Linked DNA regions of Homo sapiens: region 2 is linked to region 1. Evidence: promoter capture Hi-C in human tissues and cell types (Jung and others, 2019). All regions are on one chromosome and are shown on one strand. The core of a region is centred on a gene start or on the middle of the fragment in contact, and the rest is flanking DNA. Distances in the headings are between cores, read along the strand shown.

Region 1 (4,403 bases), core at 834-3,333:
TGTCTGCACCTTCTGCCCAGAATGTTCTCCGGGGGAGTGGGAGGAGGATGGGGGTCTGGAAAGGGCTAGAGCTGCCGCAGGGAGAGAAGGAGGGGCAGATTTCCCCACAGCTGAGTCTCACTGTGTCCTGGGAGAGGCCTTCCCAAACCACCTGACGGCCCCTGCTCACCCTCCTTGGAGGCCCTGGGCACTCATCCAAGCACTCATCGCCTGAGCGCTCATCCAAGGTCTGTTGGTTTATTTGTCCATCGGCTCCCTCTAGAAGGTGAGCCCTGGGACAGCAGAGGCCTTCTCCTGTCCACCACTGCAGCCTAAAACAGGACTTGGTGCCCACCCACCCCACACACCCTGGATATGCAGTCTCGCTCCACAAGGGACCTCCGCACCGCTTCCTTTCCCAACCTTCCCCTCCAACCTTCCCCTCTCCGCCCAGGCTCTGGGCTGATCCAGCCATCACCCCGATACCCTGCATCCTTCCTATCATGCCCAGTCCCAGTGGCCCCAGCACCCCCCACCCACTATTGGTTGAATCAATGAAGGGCTCCCCCGATTTGCCCCCTTCTCTCCCTGACCCCTCTCCCTCCCTCACTCAGCCTTTGCTCTCCTGCTCTCCCCCAGGAACCCTGACGTCCTCACTATGCCCCTACCTCCATCACCACCCCACTGCCCCGTGATTCCTGACCCCCACTTCCTGCCACCTCCCTGCCTCTCCCAGCCCCCACTCCCTCACAATCCCTTCCACTATTGCTTACAGACCCGTGTCCTGGCTGCCTGGCTGACTTCCTCAGTCCCTCTCCATCAGTCCCCACCACCCTCTGGCCAGCCAGCTCCCTGCAGCGGCCCCAGCTCTCCAGTTTCCCTTTTCTCAACCCAACAGCCCTCAGCCTTGCACCTTCCCTAGCTCCACTTCTTCCCCGGCCCTCCCAGCTGGCTCAGCCCTGCTCAGGCCCTTCTCTCCAAGTCCTCCCTAGACAATCCGGAAGCCTGCCCGGCATCTATCTCCTTTCCCCTCCTCTCCCACTTCCATAATCCACTTGGCACAGTGACGTGGCAGAGAAGCCTCGCAGAGAAGCTCTTTCTCCCAGCCTGCTAAGACGCGTCTGTCTCACCCGTCTTCTCCTCTCAGGCCCCTCCCGGGTAAGAGTCCATCTGTCAGAATCCCTCACCTCCACTCTCCTCACACACCTTCCTCAGCCCCTCCCTCTCAATTCGCCAGGACATCCCAGGTCACTGACGACGCTGCCCACCCCGGCCTCCCTGGCCTTCCAGACTCTTTCTAGTCTCCCATCAGCCTCCCACGTGCTCCAGATACCAAATCCAGAACCCCTCTTCCCATGGATACCTCAAAACAACTCTTCACCACCCCACCCCACAGCTGTGCGTCCTCCTCCAAGCTCAGCTCCCATCCATGGTCACCTAGATTGCCCCAAATCATCCCGGCCTCTTCGGCCAGCCGGGTCCCCAGACAGAGCTCTCCCTCACCACCCGGCTCAGGACTCATGATCCCGTTTTTCCCCAAAGGTCGTTCCACTGACCCCCAACTGCCTACAGCCCCGTCGCCCTAATCCCCCGCCACTGCATCGGACCCTCCTGCGGCCCCGCCCCCGAGACCTCCCCTCCCGCCCCGCCCCCTGCGCTAGTTCCCCTCCCCTCGCCTCCCCCGCCGCGCCCCCGGGTCATACCCGCCCCCTCCTGCCCCGCCCCCAGATCTCTCTCCCCTCCCCCTGACGCCCACCCTCGGCCCGACTTCGTCCGCCCCCGGCGCCTCTCCCCCTCCCCTGACCCTCGCGTGCCGCTCCCAGCCCCTCATCCTCTCCGATCTCCCGAGCCGCCCAAGGCCCCAGATCTCTCTCCCCGGCCGTCCCCGCCCCGCAGGGCCTCAAGCCCCTGCGTTCCTCACGCACCCCACGGACTCTTTGAGCTTCTGACCGGGTCCCGCGCTCTTGAACTTGATGTCGGCCTTGAACTCCTGAAAGAATTTCTTCATGGTGGCGGCTGGCCCGGCGGCGGGGGGCCGCGGGGGCGGGGGGGCACGGGGCCCAGTCGGGGACGGGGCCGCCGGAGACCAGCCACCGGAAGAAAATTAAAAAAAAAAAAAAAAAAAAAAAAAAAATTTACCTCGCCGCCGGAAGTCCCGCCTTCCCCTGGCCTGCCACGTGACAATCGACTAGACGTGCCTCTCTAGCGCTCGGTGCCTTGCTGGCCCAGGGCGGCCGCTCTGTACGCTGGAGCCGCGTCTCTGTGGTTCTTCCGGACTCCGTTGCCAGGGCGACGAGTGCACCTCTCGATTGGAGACAGGGCATTCCGTGGCGCTCCCCAAACGGTGACAAACGGTGATAGGACAGGGACAGGCCAACTGAACCTCGCAGAGAAAGCACTGGGCCCTATCCCTTTCGCTGCTCAACCTAAACTAGGCGCGGTGGCTCACGCCTGCAATCACAGCACTTTGGAGGCTCAAGCGGAAGGATTGCTTGATCCCAGAAGTTGGAGACCAGCCTGGCAACATGGCAAAACCTCGTCTCTATAAAAAAAAAAAAAATAAAATAAAATAAATTAGCCGAGGGTGGTGGCGCGCGCCTCTCAGCTACTTGGGAGGCAGAGGCGGGAGGATCGCTTGAACCCAAGAGGTCGAGGCTGCAGTGAGCTGTGATCAAGCCACTGCATTCCAGCCTGGGCGACAGAGAGAGACCCTGTCTCAAGCAAAACAAAAAAAATTCCAACCTTCTCTGTCTCCCCAGAGCTTACGTGATAAAATCCCAATTCAATGTTGGGTATTGGAGGCCCCCACGATCTGGCCTGTTTTGGTGCCTGAAGCACCCCCCCGCCACCATCACCACGTACCCTAGGTAGGAGCTGTTTAAGAGGATGCACCTGGGCCGGGCGCGGTGGCTCATGCCTGTAATCCCAGCACTTTGGGAGGCCGAAGCGGGCGGATCACAAGGTCAGGAGATCGAGACCATCCTGGCTAACACGGTGATACCCCGTCTCTACTAAAAATACAAAAAATTAGCCGGGCATGGTGGCAGGCGTCTGTACTCACAGCTACTCGGGAGGCTGAGGCAGGAGAATGGCGTGAACCCGCGAGGCGGAGCTTGCAGTGAGCCGAGATCTCACCACTGCACTCCAGCCTGGGCGACAGAGCGAGACTCCGTCTCAAAAAAAAAAAAAAAAAAAAAAAAAGAGGATGCACCCAATGCACCCAATTGGGACCTGGGGATTGGGGATCCACTTTGGTGGACACCAGTTAATAGTGGCGTACTTTGGTCTGTGCAATCCACAAAGAAGATACACAAAGTGACAGTTAAAACAAGCCTCAAAAAATGGGAGTTGGGGGTCAGACGTGGTGGCTCATGCCTCTAATCCCAGCACTTTGGGAGGCCGAGGCCGGCGGATCACTTGAGGTCAGGAGTTTGAGACCAGCCTGGCCAACATGGTGAAAGCCTGTCTCTATGGGCACCGGTAATCCCAGCTACTCGGGAGGCTGAGGCAGGAGAATCGCTTGAACCCGGCAGGTGGAGGTTGCAGTGAGCCGAGATCTCGCCATTGCACTTCAGCCTGGGCAACAGAGGGAGACTCTGCCTCAAAAAAGAAGGAGTTGGAATGAGATACACAGAGACTGATGGAGGAGAAGCCTCCAGGTGAGGAAACAGCCCACCCCAAGACTGAAATTGAAATATCATGGGTTGGACGGGTGGCTCAGGCCTGCAGTCCCAACATTTTGGGAGGCCAAGGTGGGAGGATTGCTTTAGCCCAGGAATTGGAGGCTGCAGTAAGCTAGGATCACGCCACTGCACTCCAGCCTGGGCAACAGAGCCAGACCCTGTCTTATTAAAAAAAGAAAAAAAGGCCAGGCACGGTGGCTCATGCCTGTAATCCCAGCCCTTTGGAAGGCCGAGGCGGGTGGATCACGAGGTCAGGAGATTGAGACCATCCCGGCTAATACGGTGAAACCCTGTCTTTACTGAAAATAATTTTTAAAAAAATTAGCCAGCCTTGGTGGCGGGCGCCTGTAGTCCCAGCTACTTGGGAGGCTGAGGCAGGAGAATGGCGTGAACCCAGGAGGCAGAGCTTACAGTGAGCCGAGATCATGCCACTGTGCTCCAGCCTGGGCAACAGAGCAAGACTCCGTTTCAAAAAAAAAAAAAAAAGGAAAAGAATTGGGCCAGGTGCGGTGGCTCACACCTGTAATCCCAGCACTTTGGGAGGTCAAGGCGGGTGGATCACTTAAGGTCAGAAGTTCAAGACCGACCTGGCCAACATAGCAAAACCCCGTCTCTATTAAAAATACAAAAATCAGCCGGGTGTGGTGGTGTGTGCCAGTAATCCCAGCTACTTGAGAAGCTGAGGCAGCAGAATCACTTGAACGCAGGAGACAGAGGTTGCAGTGAGCTGAGATTGCACCA
Region 2 (4,039 bases), core at 323-2,822, 480 kb before region 1:
AAAATGCAAAAAATTAGCCGGGCATGATGGCAGGCGCCTGAAGTCCCAGCTACAGGAGGCTGAGGCAGGAGAATGGCGTGAACCTGGGAAGCAGAGCTTGCAGTGAGCCAAGATCACGCCATTGCACTCCAGCCTAAGCAACAGAGCAAGACTCTTGTCTCAAAAAAAAAAAAAAAAAAAAAAAAAAAATAGCCCTGGGCCAGGCATGGTGGCTCACACCTGTAATCCCAGCACTTTGGGAGGCCGAGGCAGGGGGATCACGAGGTCAGGAGATCGAGACCATCTTGACTTACTAACACAGTGAAACCCCGCCTCTACTAAAAATACAAAAAAAAATTAGCCGGGCGTGGTAGCACGCGCCTGTAGTCCCAGTTACTCAGGAAGCTGAGTGAGGCAAGAGAATCGCTTGAACCCGGGAGGTGGAGGTTCTAGCGAGCCAAGATCACGCCACTGCACTCCAGCCTGGATGACACAGCGAGACTATCTCAAAAAAAACAACAACAACAACAAAAACAGCCCCACATGCCTGTGGAAGACTGCAAAGAAGAAACTTGAGGAACTTAAGAAGCTGAGACCAAGACCGAGATCAAGTCTAGGCGTCTGCAGAGCCTAGCTCAGCTCAGCTTTAAAGCAGAGGGCAGGTGTCCGGGGTGGGGCGTGGGGAAGGCTGGTCACTGGCGCCTCACCTTGATGGGGATGCAGGCGTGGTCCTCCTCCAGGTCCTTCAGGCAGATCTCCAGGTGCAGCTCGCCGGCGCCCGCGATGATATGCTCTCCCGACTCCTCGATGATGCACTGAAAGGGATGCGGGTCAGCACCAAAGGGGTAGGCGGCTCGGAACAGGCGGGACCAGGCTCCCAGCTTCCCTTTAGCTAGGGACCCCGCCAGAACAAGATTTCAGGGAAGGTGCTGGGAAACTGGGACCAGCACAAACTCCTGAAGAAATGTTAAGTCCCACAAGCTACAGTGAACACGCGCAGAGCAGCCTAGGAGAGGGTGGTGGCTGCCTGGGCAGGAGTCTCCATTTACAGCCACAGCCAAGAACCCCTCCTTTCATGACCAGTCACCCCAATCCACCAACCACAGCAACCCACACAGCCACAACTCAGGACACAAGCCGTCCCCCCTCAGGGTGTCTGCTCCCAGCAGGTGCACTCCGTGCCCACCTGCACCATGGGGTCGGACTTGGCCAGCCGCTTCAGCCCCTCCACCAGCTTGGGCAGGTCAGCCGGGTTCTTGGCCTCCACGGCCACTCTGACAACAGGGCTGACGCTGAACTTCATCACCCGCATGTTGTGCGCGTGCTCGAAGGTGGTGATGGTGCCCGTCTTCACCAGGAACTGGTCCACGCCCACGAGGCCCACAATGTTCCCACAAGGCACATCCTCGATGGGCTCCACGTAGCGGCCCATCATCAAGATTGTTCTGGAAGAAGCAGAAGGCGGCAGCAGGCCGCAGGGATGGTTGTGCTGGACCCTGGAGGGCCAGGGCAGGTCCCTCCCGGAGTTGGTGGCCCTCCTGCCAGGTCCCAGGGCAGACTGGTGGCTTCCACAAGGCCCTGACTGCTGCGTCGGGGCTGTCAGGAAACATCCTCTTCAGAATCACTGCCCTCCTCCCTGGGTATGGGTCGACGGCCGCCACCCACCTGTGCCCAGGGACACAGATGAGCAGGGGTGTGCTGTGCCCTGGGGCTTGGAGCTTCTCCAGAAATGCCCTCACTGGGCTAAGAACAAAAGTTGTGGCTGGCACAAGTATCACCCTATATTCCTTCTATGCTCCTTACTTCTAGCTCCCGACTGAGGAGCCCAAGACTTGGAGCAGGGCAGGGCCCGCAACAGTGCCAAGGGGCCTGCACATCACCCAGCTGCTCACCTCTGGATTGGCTTCAGGTAGAGGTCCTCCTTCTTCCCAGGGGTATAGTTGGGCCCCATGATCCTGACCTTCAGGCCAGTGGAGACCAGCCCCGAGAAGACTCGTCCAAAGGCGTAGAACCGACCTTTGTCGGAGGTTGGCACCATTTTGGAAATATACATCATAAGAGGGCCTTTGGGGTCACAGCTTTTAATGCCTGAGGGACAGAGAAAACCCGCAAGCTTTATTCCAGTGCAGCTCAGCCTTCTGGAACCCTGCAACCCACAACCTTGGGCAACAGGAAGTCATCCGGCTGCATCTCAGGGCCCGGCCACCGGGACCACGTACCCATGGCAGCCTCGTCGTCCGGGGGCCCCTCGTACAGGAGCTCGCAGCGGTACTTCTGGGCCGTCACAGGGGAGGGCAGGTGGATGGTGATCATCTGCAACAAGGCGTCTCCGGCAGGCAGCCAGCGGCGCATCACAGCCTGCGGGGGCAGAGAGCGGTGCATGAGACACCTGGGGAGCCCAGGATGGCCCCACCCCGTACACGCTTCCTCTCTTGAAGCCAAGGAAGCCAAAGTCAGGACTAACGTTCTCCAAAGCACAGTCCCTTCTGGAAGGCGGCAAAGGCCATGCACACTCCTGCCAAGGCCCTCACCCACACCTGTCCCGGATGGGGCTGGCTGCTGGGATGTGTCTCCAGCAGCACCCAGAGTCTAAAGCGAAAGGGGCAGCAGCTGTCCCTGCCCAGCTGAGGACTTCAGCCCCCAGGCCTGGGCTGTCAGAGCATCCGGAAACAGCAGCCTGTGTTCCCTCCACCCCGAGGGCTGGGCCCAGGCCGCACCTTCAGCAGGGGTTTGCCTTCTTTGTCCTTGTCCTCGCTGTCCAGTTTGATGTCCAGTTTCTCTATCAGTTTTGCTGTCTCCTCTTTCTTGAAATTCATGATCGCATCAAACACCTACATTCCCCACCAAGAAACAAGAAAGCCCATTTGGGAACAGCAGGAGGAAGCCTGGCACTGCTTCCTGCTTGGAAGACTCAGGTCAGCGCAGGGGGACGCAGCACGGGAGCAGGAGCAGGCCTGGCCTGCCTACCACGGGCCCAGCCAGCTGAGCGGATCGGGAGCTGGAGGAAACCTCGTGGTGGAGCAGAGGAAAAAGCCCACTCTGACTCAGACAAGGACCCAAGTTCTGACTTACAAGCACTGAACCGCCAAAGCCACAAGTTATTCAACCCCCTCAATGCAGGAGAGGTCCCAAGGCTCTGGCTATGCAGTCCAGATCTTAAGAGAGGAGCCCTGACTCCACCTCAGTTAGGAGCTGTGCCTCCTCCCATCTCGCATCTGCCCCACAAGGAGACGGGCCCAGTCAGCCGACAGGCTACCGGCCGGAGCCCACAGGGCCGAGGGCCAATAGTCGCATCGGCGGGGTGCCTGGCGCAGCCCTCACTCACCTTGAAGATGGGGTCCAGGATCAGCTGGCAGAAGGTGCGTGGCAGCTTCTTCCCTTCGGGGCTGGTGGCTGACTTGCTGAACTTGCCGTTGGCTGGGTCAAAGTACCTGGCAAGGAGAGGCCAAGCCAAATCAAGTTAGGGTCTCCAGGGGATGACTTGGGGAGGGTGGTCGCCAAGGGGACATGCTTGGGCAAGACCTGGTGGGCTTGAGCCACGCTGTGAATAGCACACCACGCCCCTACGTCGCTGCCACTACCCCCAGGTGTCAGGAATCCCCCACCATATCCCGCGGGGCTCACCTGTCACCCCACAGCTTCTTCATCATGTCCTCTACTTTCTTGGCCCGCTCGGCAGGCCCCAACTGGCCCTCCCCCTTGGCGGCGAACTTGGCCACATACATCTCGGCAAACTGCTTCAGGGTGAAGGCCCACCCGTGGAGGCCAGACCCAAAGCCCACGGTACCGAGGACAGGATCGATCTGGAAGTGTGAGAAACGAGAAGCAGCCGTGAGGGCCCCTGCGCAGAGCCTGAAGCTACGGGCTGGGCGCCTTGGGCATGGGCCTCAGACGCAGGCTTTCTTCAGTAGACATCTGGTCAAAGTGAAGAAATGATCAGTCATCACGAATAGGGGGGCCAGCCCCTCCACCACCCAGGGCAGCGTTCCCTGAGCTCGTCTCTTCCAGCTGCCCAAAGATCAAGGGCTGGGTCAAGTCGGATGAAAACATTCCAGCCCCC

The links. Contacts are between HindIII fragments. The study calls those that stand out against the background at their distance.
Region 2: a contact is called between a fragment that was not itself captured here and the fragment with the promoter of UBXN6 in region 1, in 1 of the 25 tissues and cell types used here (dorsolateral prefrontal cortex).

The regions. Positions count from the first base shown.
Region 1 is chr19:4,455,711-4,460,113 of GRCh38, forward strand. UBXN6 (UBX domain protein 6) reads right to left here and starts at 2,084. Exons shown (of 11, transcript NM_025241.3): 1 at 1,905-2,084. The coding sequence starts at 1,987. RefSeq lists silencers at 1,886-1,955, 1,986-2,035 and an enhancer at 2,146-2,345. The HindIII fragment of the contact is 9,046 bases long and covers 1-4,403 here.
Region 2 is chr19:3,978,643-3,982,681 of GRCh38, forward strand. EEF2 (eukaryotic translation elongation factor 2) reads right to left here. Exons shown (of 15, transcript NM_001961.4): 5 at 3,604-3,782; 6 at 3,305-3,410; 7 at 2,697-2,810; 8 at 2,199-2,337; 9 at 1,872-2,067; 10 at 1,166-1,424; 11 at 687-794. SNORD37 (small nucleolar RNA, C/D box 37) reads right to left here and starts at 3,930; the gene lies at 3,865-3,930. RefSeq lists an enhancer at 2,831-3,682. The HindIII fragment of the contact is 5,039 bases long and covers 1-4,039 here.